Linked DNA regions of Homo sapiens: all the other regions are linked to region 3. Evidence: promoter capture Hi-C in 16 types of primary human blood cells and fetal thymus (Javierre and others, 2016). All regions are on one chromosome and are shown on one strand. Each heading gives the region's core, a stretch centred on a gene start or on the middle of the fragment in contact. The rest is flanking DNA. Distances are from core to core; before and after follow the strand shown.

Region 1 (2,837 bases), core at 91-2,590, 1.0 Mb after region 3:
TGATCCTCTCCCTCCTCCCACCCTCTACCCTCTGAAAATCCCCAGTATGTTATTGTTCCCCTCCGTGTGTCCATATGGAGCAAGAAGGCAATCTGTCATAGGCTGAGAGTCTATCTTGAATATTAACTTAAGAATTGACATCTAAATTAATGTTCAAGATAGACTCTTAGCCTATGGCAGATTGGTTTCTTGGTCCACATCATCATTACCTCCAACTCAGATCCAGATGTGCATATTTACCTTCCTCTGCCCTGATGAGTAATTAGAAGGAAAAGTTTGAAAAGCATTATCTCCATATTTGTACCATTTTTGGATCTACGTTCATTTTCAGTCCAGTCCTCTCCCTTTCCAATAAGTCAAAAGGCAGGCCTGTATGGAAAACTCTCTTCTCTATAAAGCAAAGCTTCTCACCTTTTCTCTACATGAGTATTCCTGAGGATAAGGCATATTTCCATGAATTACACTTACAGAAAGTGATTCTCAGTAGGATATCGCAATTATGGCAAACATTGATTCTGATCAATCCTTCAGGAGGAGGCTCTCTCTGTTACCTCACCCCATACCTATAGCTATTCATTTAGCCAATAAACTTTTAATGTCTATTCTCTATGAGCCAGGTGCTGTAATCATTAGGAAACTTACTTATGCTTGAGGTTGGGGATAGAGAAGATGAGTGAACCACCCATTGTAATATAATGCAACAATCACAATTTATGGACATTTGAAAAGGCAGTAAAATGTGTCTTAAAAGTCAAAAGAATTTAAAAAATCAAAGCAGACCTAGGTATGATTCAGATATTAAAGTTGGCAGAAAAATCCCCTGACAGTTTTCAGCAGGTCTCCCATTGTCTCACCTATAAGCAAGCCGTATGGAAGACCAGGAAACAGACCCCAACAGTACAACCCAGAGAAGGATATGGGTGAGGAGGAATCTGAGGGAAGATGGTTCTAAAACCAGCACAGAAATTGTAGAATAAAGACTACAGAAGAGTCACTAGGCTTGACAAGTATGAAGTCAATGATCACCATTCTTTGAGATAATTAAGAAGTACTTAAGAATGTAAGTTAAGGGATTGTGAGAGTCAAAATTTTTGTCCCAAAAAATGTTTTAATGTAAATTGCTTTATTTTTAGAACTAACCTCATCCAGTTTTGAGGCCCCAGTTTTTTCTGTAAGATTAACTCATGCTGTTTCAGATTAGTCTTTGGGAGGTATCATCTCAGGGACTGCTTATTTAGATTCTCCCTTTTCTGCATAATCTACATTCTTGAGGCGCTTACTTATCATCCTGGCACCAGTACAAGGGGCATCTGATGTACTCCTGTCCTTGTTTTTTAGATCTTTATCACCTCCTTGGAAACATCCCTCATTTCACATGATTCCCTATGTCTCCTGCACTGTTATCTGCTGAAATATGACTATTTAAATATTTTCTCTGCATCTTTGGGCCCCACACTCTGTCCTCCTTGTCCTAACCACAGGGTACCATAGATTATCTTATTCCCATAGGAAGCCTGATAATGTTAGGCTGATAATGTTAGGCTGCTTTCTCAGTATCACACTTAAATGGCCTTCAACCTTGAGGCTTGGACACCTTCCTCATCTAGGTCTAACCTCTCACTATGACAGGGCCATGTTGTTTTGGTACCATGCATAACAGAAGAAGGGGCTTAAAATTTTCCTGGGATTCATCCACAAAAAAAACATTCTTGTTTTATCCGTCACTCTCTCTTCCTCTCCCTCTCAACCTAGCAACAGAGGGTTTTCTATCTTACATCATTTTTGCTGAGACAAAAAAAAGAGTCTGTGCAATATATATATACCAGACAAGTTCAAAATTGAGTAGAACCTCCGCTTCTTACTGGAGGAATAAAGAAGAAAATGCTACCACTATAATATAAACTCAATTACTGAAAAAAATAGAATGTGAAATGGAATTTGTATGAGATATTATCTTTCAGCATTTGGAAAGCTCATGTGGTAGGTTATGTCCAGGCCTGCTATAGACCCAAAACACAACAAAAAATAGAACATAGTCATATGCGACTATGGCACAGGTAGGAAGAACTTCACTGGTTGTACGTGGACCACTGATAGACCATGTCCCCACCCTCAGACTAATTACTTAAAAGGCAATATTTGATCACAGAACCTAGGTGACAGCTCCTTGAGGAACAAGAGGGTCATCAGGTAACTGCACACATTCACTGGTGTACTTTTCTGGTGGACATAATTTACATAGTTGTTTGCTATGCAACCAAAGCAGAAGTAAGCTTAAACCATTTCCAGTTCATTATTCTGGCCAGTCTTCGACAGATATCAAACTTCACAGCCTCACCTAGCTACTCCCTTCTCCTTTGCTACTCTTTTCTTACCTTTCTACTCCATCCTCACTTTGCACTTCAGCTTTCTTTTCTCCTTAAAACTGCCTTGTCAAATAAGAACTTTTTCCTTGAACTGTATTTTAAAATTTCTTTACTGGCTTATTATAGTAAGACTCTTATAATTCATTCCCTATGATTGCTGTAACCATAAACTTGATGACTTAAAGCAACATAAATTTATTCTCTTACAGTTTTATAAATCAGAAGAGACTTCTGACTATTGTTACTCTAGTATTTTCCTTCACTTTCATGGTGGTGTTAACATTCACCGTATCATTCACCATATTCATAATGTGGTACCATGCATAATTGAATAAGGGACTTAAAATTTTCCTGGGATTCATCCAGAAACAAAACACTCTTGTTTTATCCGTTGCTCTCTCTATTCATAATGATGAATTATATGGTGAATGTTAACACTACCGTGAAAGTGAAGGAAAATACTAGAGTAAC
Region 2 (3,015 bases), core at 431-2,930, 1.1 Mb after region 3:
AATGAAAATCACAAGTCTAATTTAAATGTGAGACAGTCACATTTGCTGAGTAACCACTGTGTGTCTTCACCTTCTCCAATATTGTTAGTTGCCTAACCAATTTTCATCTTTCACTTCTTCCTTACCAACATAATCTTTTTTTTAATCGTGGGGTTAGCAATATGTCCAGCTAAAAGAAAGAAAATGCATTTCCCAGACTCTTATTCAGATGGGGGATTCATGTGATACAGTTTTGGACGATGAGAGATCAATGGGAGTTTTTGGTGGAGATTCCTGAGAAATCTCCTTGAAAGGAAGCAAATTCTACTAGGAAGTGGAGTTTGCTTTTGCTCTTCTCTTTCTTCCTGCCTGCAGAGTGAATGTGATAGCTGGAGCCCCAGCAGCCACCAGGTGACCATAAGGAAAGAAAGCCTCCGGGGATGGCTGAACAAAGGGGTGAAGAGAGCCTGGGTCATGGCGTCATAGCCCTGGACTACCTCTCTTCCAACTGACTTCTCATTAGGAATTAAAAGATAAATGCTTATCCTATTTGAACTACTCTTATTTGGGTTTTCTATACATACAGCCAAACTCAGTCCCTAATATAAGTGGGCATCATTGTCCCCACTCACAGATAAAGTTAAGGAACTCCTGTGATGACACAGCCTGGAGATGGCAGAACTGGATTTGGAACCAAAGCATTCTGGGCCCAGAGCTCACATGCTAAATTATATACTACAAGCTTCTTTAAAAAGTACAAAGAAGATTAGATTTAGGAACCAGAAATTGACTTTATCTGACTTTTCCTCCTATCTATACACTCCCTTTCCTTGATCCACTATTCATTCCTTTGGACAAGTAACCCCATTTAGTGTACTAAGTATGAAGCACACTGCACCAGGCGCTGGAGATGCTACACTGACAAGCCAGACAAGATCCCTGCCTCATAGAGCCTGTACCTGTGGGGGTATAGATGAGAACATAGACCATTACAATGTTATAAGCACAATCATGTGGGTGATACAAGGTACCATGGGAAACAAAGGAGGAGTCCTAGCCCAGTTGGTTTTCTCTCCCTCCCCAAAAATATAGTGACTAATTATCCAGATGTGCAGAAAAAAAAATCAGAAAAAGTGAGCTCCTCTACTTAAATAGTCTCATAGATTATTTTCTCCTGAAGGAGAGGGGAGCCAGCTAGAAAATTTTCCTTACACCTTCTTGACTTGACACAGGATTCCTCAGCCTTTTTTCATATTGCCTATGCAATCATTCTTACAATTGTTCTTACTCTTGACACACAGATGTGAGAAATATTTCCCAATTCTCCCACAAGTGGCATTCAAAGGACTGTTACTCTACTATGGTTAGTCCTGCCCATGTCTCTCCATAAGCTGTGTTACTGTCTGCCTTCAGAAGCTGTCTCTTCAGTCTGTGTTGTAATAAGGCTATCATTACTCTGCTTGCCTTTGTTCACTTCCATCCCTCCTGGATAGAATGGCAATTGGAAAGGAACAATGAGGATCCTCCTTTTAAATCTTCTGCCGCAGATCCACGTAAAATAACTTCCTTCTCTGTTTCACAAAGCCCAAACCTTCCTTCTGACACCACCTTAGGCTTCATCTGTGATTCACATATCTAATATAAAAAGGCCCCCTTTTGTTAACCACTGCATCAGGAAATCGAGTAAGATAATAGACTACTCTCTCTTGCTCTCACCCCCCATGTCCTTCTCTCTCAATGGAGCACTATATCTCATAAGATTCTAAAAAGGAAAGGCAGAATGAGATTGTTAAAACCTCTACTGCATTTTGATCCTATTTTACCTGATTAACTATCTATTCATCATTTGCCTTCTGAGTATGAAATACAGAAGCATCATGCTGCTCAGGGGAACATCAAGCTGTACTTTGCTGGTTTCTACCATTGACAGGCACCAACATGGAATCACTTGATAAACCTAAAAGCAAAGAAAGTATTCAGGTAATAGACACAGCACAAATAACAACAAAAACAAGCAAATGTATCACTTTATTGTAATTGTCCTTAGTGGCTTAAAAGCATGGCACAGACTACGTTTTTTGCATGAATAATGACCCCTTTTGTCTTCCAACTTTTTACAATAACAAACTTATATGCCTATCTCACTTCTTAACACATTATCCCTGGTTATCCCATTTGTCACCATAATTATGTGACTTGAAGGGCAATAATCTGGTGAAACAAGGACTTTGAGTTTTCATTCTAAGCTCATAACTTCTGATATAACCTTGTATGAATTATCCAAGCTCCACAGCCCCATCATTAGAATAGCAGTGACAATAACCTACCTCAGAGGTTTATATGAAAACAAGCAGATTTTTCAAATCATGATGAGACACTTTGCACAAACAAAGGGCTTTGAAGCTGTATTGTCATTCTCGGACTTCTGCTCTACTTCCAATTACGGGGTGAAGTCGGTCACTGATTAATCCTTACTAGAGCCACAGTCTCTTCCTAGGAAGTGCAGCCACAGGGCAGAAGAGTGTCAAGATGAAATATGCATTGAAATATCATTCTCAAAACTTTGGATAACAAAAGGGGCTGTGGGTTCTTTTCATTATCGCAAAAAAAAATCTGAGTTCTTTGTGTCTTCATAGAAAACTGAACACAGGGAAGCTTGATAGAGGGGAATCAAGGATGAGAACACTGATTTCCATCATTTATTCTTGCCATGCTGAAGAAGAATGAGTAATAAACACGGAACTGAGGCTGCCATCTTATACCATCTACCCCATGTGTATTCAGCATCTGACAGTACCAAGGCTTAGCATAATAGGCAGAAAACCAGATACAGATAACAAAATTGTGCTCCTCACAAGACCCCAGTGTGCTAACCCTTTTCACCATCATTACTCCCTCTTTCTAACTTTCCTGTTGCATTCCTGAGTCTCTCACTCAATTTTTGTACACTCTTGTCCTTGTTCTGCTCCACAGTGCTGGGCCCTCTCCATTTTCTGTAATTTCAAGAGAAATTTCCACCAACAAAAGTTTTACTGA
Region 3 (2,834 bases), core at 169-2,668:
TTGTGAGAAATAGATGTCTGCTGTTTATAAGCTGCCCATTCTCAGATGTTTTGTTATAGCAGCCCAAATAGACTAAGACATAGCTGCATGTGTTAAATCATCGTATGTAGGCACAGCCTTCTTACAATAATTACTAACTGAAATAGATGCTGATGGTCCTTTAGGAGAACTGTTTCTGGTTTTCATTTGGTTGTGACCAAGAATATATAAGAAATAGAAATTTAGTATATAGTACTTTAATTAAATATGTAGTTTTAATTTTATTTATTTCTGTCGGAAGGGTTTTATTGCAAAGTTAGAAAATATTTACTAAACACTAAAAACCAAATAATTATTGGTTTATACCACACAGTAAATGGCAAAATCAGTGTAGCAAGGCTGTCTAACTACACCCTATATGCCTTATAGCAGGGCTGGCCAGTCTAATTTCCCAAGTTTTCAGCTTACCCTATCAATTGGCAGCCTGGCAGCTTTGTGAATTTTGTAGACTAAAACATCGACTAGATAAATATATGAATGGTCCATTGAATGGTCAGTAAAGGAGCAGAATGGGCATGAGACAATTTGTCACAAAGATCAAAGAAGAGAAACTGAGACAGTCTGTGTGCATTCCATCACCTACCATTTTACTGAGATGAAGTTAATATTTCTCCAAGAATCTTCAGTTTCTTCTCCAATGTCACCATCCTGATTTCCAGAAATTGCCTCGTGTCTAGAGCAGCCATTTTCTTTCCATTCATCTATTTTCTGTGGTGATGAGCTGCTGAGCTGGTCCCATGTTTTTGATTAAGGTGAATAATCTTTGTGTGGTCTTCCCCGTCTTTAGTTTGCTGATGGGTTGTAAAGTACTAGTTCAGTTTCTAGTGTTTTAAGAAGTTCCTGCTTTTGATACGTCTTTGAGGGACTGGCTGTGAGACCCACTTGCTGCCTTGCTTCAATTTAGTGTCTACCAAGCACAAAGTGGTTTTGAATGAAAACTCTATAATTAGGCTTGGTCATCTAGGTTAGTTGGTTACATAGGTGAAATGGCTTTTCTTGATGTTGAGCTCGTAGTCTAGCCATGTTTATCCATAATTGGACTTGCCTTTTGCCTAGGGAAGTATCCAAGTGAACTCCAGAGCATATTGCTGTATTTAGCCATGACTTACTGCTTTCCAAACACTGTATTCTCCAGAAGGTACACTTTGAGATGGTGATTTCATGCAGGAGATTTATTAGGAAGTATTTTGGGGGCCAACACCTGTGGAAAAAGAAAATAGAGACAAGTTCAGCTGCAATACAATCTCAATAGAAGCCTCTGCTGACCCTATTGGGAGTTCTGAAGAGGTAATGAGCCTTACCAGCTGTCCTGAATTGGGGTGAAGTGGCCAGGCTTTTATAACCACATGTTCATCAGTCATTGAATGAAGGCTACCTATGAAGAGTGTGTAGGCTAGGTTAGGCAGCTTTTGTCAGCTGAGGTCATCCTCAAAGGGGGCTAAGAGCTGAGAGGCTGTCTGCTGGCAGCACACCTAGCATCTGACATAATAAGCCCTTTATTCCTGACAGGGAATCTTCTTGCATCACAGCACCTACACCATTGCCCTTGGATACATTAATAGAGTTCTCCTATTATTGGCTTTTTTTTTTTTTTTTTTTTTGTGATGGAGTCTTGCTCTGTCACCCAGGCTGGAATGCAGTGGCTCACTGCAACCTCTGCCTGCCGGATTCCAGCAATTCTCCTGCCTCAGCCTCTGAGTAGCTGGGATTACAGGTGCGTGCTACCACGCCTGGCTAATTTTTGTATTTTTAGTAGAGACGGTGTTTCACCATGTTGGCCAGGCTGATCTCAAACTCCTGACCTCGTGATCCGCCTCGGCCTCCCAAAGTGCTGGGATTACAGGCGTGAGCCACATCGCCCGGCCCTATTGGCTTTTTATTCCCAACATGCTGAGAACAAATTTGCAGAAAATCGAAGGCAAAAGTGCGTAGGGCCCTCAAAAATCACTGTGCATCTCTGAAACTTTGATAAGCCTACTTTTATACTTTGTTATATGATATAATGAATATCTTTATTACTTAAGTTATTATTATTCAGAATTCTGTTACTTGTAATTGAAAGTATTCTCAACAAATATAACCAAACTTGTACAGCCAAACCATTCAATGACAAAATAATTAACCAAAAAAATCAACTGTTGACTTTTGATAGAAAAACTAAAAAAAGCCTCTCTGAGGAGATAATATTTGGGCTGAAATCTGAATCACAAATGGGGTTAGCCAAGTGAGGATGCAAGAAGAGCATTCCTGTTAGGGGGAACAATTGCAGAATCCTAAGGCAGAAGTGAATTTGGCAGGTTCAAAAACATGATTCTTATTAAAGAATTTGGTTTGCCAGGCTATGATTTAAGATGTTTAAGATGCTCCAGTAATGCTTAGGGATTTCCCCCACAAATATTTAATATGATTACAAACATTTTAAATGTAAAGGGAAAGAGGAACAAGAAAAATTGTCAAATAAATGATTATGACTTAGGAAGAAGAACATTTGTGTAAGAGGTTATCTGCAATTGTCAGAAGAAAAAAATACCTGATAAATATATTGAGAACAAGATTTGCCTTCAGAGATGTGTGTGTGTGTGTGTGTGTGTGTGTGTGTGTGTGTATGTGTATTTATATAAATACATACAAGGAGGTAAACATAGCTTTATAGCATCATCAAGCTGAATTAAATGACAGGAGCATAACAGCAGAAAGCTCTATCACTCTTTTAGGAATAAACCTGGTAGAAGTGGAGGTGTGTTAGTACTGTATGCCAAGAAGTTGCTGGAAAATCTTCAGCAGTGTGGCTGGAG
Region 4 (3,230 bases), core at 532-3,031, 1.0 Mb after region 3:
TTTAGAGACAAATTAATAGAAGTATCCTTTTAATAATACAATTTTTGTAAAGAAATCAATGACAAAATCTCCCTATATAATTATATATTTGAATAAATATATGTAGCATATGTTTTTATAATTATAATAGCATGCAGAAGAAAACACAGCAAATTGTTACTTTGGATTAGGAGAACTATGTAGTGAAGAGTGAGGGACAAATAGAAGGGAAACGAAATAAGAAGGGAGAAAAATCCCCAAAACCACATGCATAATATGACCACATTTTTGTAAACTAGTATGCTTGTGTATGTATATACACATGCACACATACACATATATGTGTGTATATATGAATGTATACATATATATGCACACAAATATAAATATTTTAAATGACTCATTAGAGTCATGTTATATGAATAGTTTATAGCTGAGAGCTAGGTACCAGCATGATTGATTAACTTTCTAAAATTGAACCACTGAGATAATTTAATTGCTGGAATTTCAAAAATATAAATTTTTAGATGTTTTCTATAGTTCAATGCTTATTCTGAAAGACAGGTTCCACTAAAATATCAGTCAGGCAAAAATATTTATTGATCCCTTAGTATGTGCTAGTATTGGTGCTAGGTACACAAGAGGGAACAAGATAATGTCCCTACCTTCAGTGAGTTGACATTCTAATGTATGGAAGCAGACAGTAACATAAGCAAAATAATTACAATAATTTTAGGAACTTCTAAGTGCTCTGAGTAAAATATAGTGACAATTTGGTCTAGTTTACAGCACTGGAAATGATGAGATATAGTCAGATATAAAATATAATTTAGAAACACAGGCAACTGGACTGTCTGGTAGATTCAATGTGAGCAGTGAAAGAAAGAGGATTCAAGAATAACTCCCATGTTTTCAGCCTGAACAGCAACTGAGTGGATGATAATACCATGTATTGATAAATGGAAAGATTGAGAGATGATTTTTTTCAGAAAATTAAGAGAAGCCATGTTTGGTTAGAGACACTCAAGTAAAAATACTGTGTAAGATATCAGACATACAATTCTGATTTTCAGGACAAAGTTCAAAATTATAAATAAAAATTTGGGAGCCATCAGCATATAGATGGCATTTAAAGCCTTGGGACTAAGCAGGGTATCTTAAGAAAATGTAACTATAGATGATTAGAGGGTTGAAAAATAAACTCTGGGCACTCCAGCAGTTAGAGATGTGTTAACAAAAATAGAGAGCTGGCAAACATAAGAACGGTTTGAGAAATGGAGAAATTTGAGAAAAAGAGAAATACAGGAGAAAAGAGCATATGTGACTGAAGATATAGGCGGGTGGTAGGAAAGTAGCATGTTTTTGTTGATTATATCCATTTTCTCTCTGAAGTAGAAAACCAAGTCATCAACTGAGAGTAAAACAGAATAATCAGTGTTTGAGATTGGAGAAGAGAAGGTGTGAAATAGTCATCTAGAGAGGATGACAGTGAATTTACTAGAAAACTGAAATAGGAGTTTCTGAAAGTGCTCAGTGATTTTGAGATCAGGGGTCATAAATCTGAAGCAAGGCCAGTCAGCATGGTAGTCTAACTGTCATCCAGCAATGTCCAGCTACTCTGGTATAGGGTTGTATTAGTCCATTTTCCTGCTGCTGATAAAGACATACCCAAGACTGGGCAATTTACAAAAGAAAGACGTTTAATGGACCCACAGTTCCACACAGCTAGAAAGGCCTCACAATCATGGTGGAAGGCAAAAGGTACTTCTTACATGGAGGCAGCAAGAGAGAGAATGAGAGAGCTTGTGCAGAGAAACTCTTGTTTTTAATACCATCAGAGCTCATGAGACTTATTCACTATCACAAGAACAGCACAGGAAAGACCCGCCCCCATAATTCAATTACCTCCCACTGGGTTTCTCCCACAACATATGGAAATTATAGGAGTTACAATTCAAGATGAGATTTGGGTGGGGACACAGGCAAACCATATCATGCCACCCCCAGCCCCTCCCAAATCTCATGTCCTCATATTTCCAAACCAATCATACCTTCCCAAAAGTCTCCCAAAGTCTTAACTCGTTTCAGCATTAACTCAAAAATCCAAAGTCTCCTGAGACAAGGCAAGTCCCTTCCACTTATGAGCCTGTAAAATCAAAGGCAAGTTAGTTACTTCCTAGATACAATGGGGATACAGGCATTGGGTAAATACAGCCATTCCAAATGGGGGAAATTGGCCAAAATGAAGGGGCCACAGGCCCCATGCAAGTCTGAAGTCCAGCAGGGCAGTCAAATCTTAAAGCTCTAAATGATTTCCTTTGAATCCATGTCTCACATCCACGTCATGCTAATACAAGTGGTGAGTTCCCATGGTCTTGAGCAGTTCCACCCCTGAGGCTTTGCAGGGGATAGCCTCCCCCTCCCTCCCAGCTGCTTTCACAGGCTGGTTTTGAGTGTCTGTGGTTTTCCCAGGTGCACAGTGCAAGCTGTATGTGGACCTACCATTCTGGGGTCTGGAGGACAGTGGCCCGCTTCTTACAGCTCCTCTAGGTGGTACCCCAGTAGGAACTCTGTGTGGGGGGGCTCCCATCCTACATTTCCCTTCTGCGCTGCCCTAGCAGAGGTTCTCCATGAGAGCCTCACTTCTGCAGCAAACTTCTGCCTGGACATCCAGGAGTTTCCATAGAGCCTCTGAAATCTAGGCAGAGATTCCCAAACCTCAATTCTTGACTTCTGTGAACGCACAGGCTCAACACCACATGGAAGCTGCCAAGACTTGGGGCTTCCACCCTCTGAAGCAACAGCCTGAGCTGTACCTTGGCCTTTTTTAGTCACAGTTGGAGCATCTGGGACAAAGGGCACCAAGTCCTTAGGGTGCACACAGCATAGGGACCCTGGGCCCAACACACAAAACAATTTTTTCCTTCTAAAGCTCCAGGCCTGTGATGGGAGGGGCTGCCCTGAAAACCTCTGACATACCCTGGAGACATTTTCCCAAATGTCTTGGGGAATAACATTCAGCTTGTTACTTATGCAAATTTCTGCACCTGGCTTGAATTTCTCCTCAGAAAATGAGATTTTCTTTTCTATCACATTGTCAGGCTGCAAATTTTCCAAACTTTTATGCTCTGTTTCCCTTTTAAAACTGAATGCTTTTAATAGGGCCCAAAGTCACCTCTTGAATACTTTGCTGCTTAGAAATTTCTTCTGCCAGATACCCTAAATCATCTGTCTCACATTCAAAGTCCACA

Evidence for each region. The method cuts DNA at HindIII sites, captures the fragments that hold promoters and counts their contacts. A CHiCAGO score of 5 or more calls a contact.
Region 1: a contact is called between a fragment that was not itself captured here and the fragment with the promoter of MAPK10-AS1 in region 3, in 5 of 17 cell types (M0 macrophages, naive B cells, monocytes and 2 more). The highest score is 8.1, in M0 macrophages.
Region 2: a contact is called between a fragment that was not itself captured here and the fragment with the promoter of MAPK10-AS1 in region 3, in 4 of 17 cell types (total B cells, naive B cells, M1 macrophages and 1 more). The highest score is 11.7, in total B cells.
Region 4: a fragment that was not itself captured here is called in contact with the fragment with the promoter of MAPK10-AS1 in region 3 in 4 of 17 cell types (M0 macrophages, M1 macrophages, M2 macrophages and 1 more); the score reaches 6.7 in M0 macrophages.

The regions. Positions count from the first base shown.
Region 1 is chr4:85,101,238-85,104,074 of GRCh38, reverse strand. No RefSeq gene overlaps it. Among named protein-coding and RNA genes, the nearest start is that of WDFY3, 140 kb to the right of the region's middle. The HindIII fragment of the contact is 1,870 bases long and covers 406-2,275 here.
Region 2 is chr4:85,059,060-85,062,074 of GRCh38, reverse strand. No RefSeq gene overlaps it. Among named protein-coding and RNA genes, the nearest start is that of WDFY3, 94 kb to the right of the region's middle. The HindIII fragment of the contact is 1,913 bases long and covers 724-2,636 here.
Region 3 is chr4:86,118,390-86,121,223 of GRCh38, reverse strand. MAPK10-AS1 (MAPK10 antisense RNA 1) reads right to left here and starts at 1,418. Exons shown (of 4, transcript NR_110879.1): 1 at 1,341-1,418; 2 at 623-1,240. The region is part of intron 4 of MAPK10 (mitogen-activated protein kinase 10); the gene reads left to right. The HindIII fragment of the contact is 8,901 bases long and covers 1-2,834 here.
Region 4 is chr4:85,117,518-85,120,747 of GRCh38, reverse strand. No RefSeq gene overlaps it. Among named protein-coding and RNA genes, the nearest start is that of WDFY3, 150 kb to the right of the region's middle. The HindIII fragment of the contact is 6,129 bases long and covers 1-3,230 here.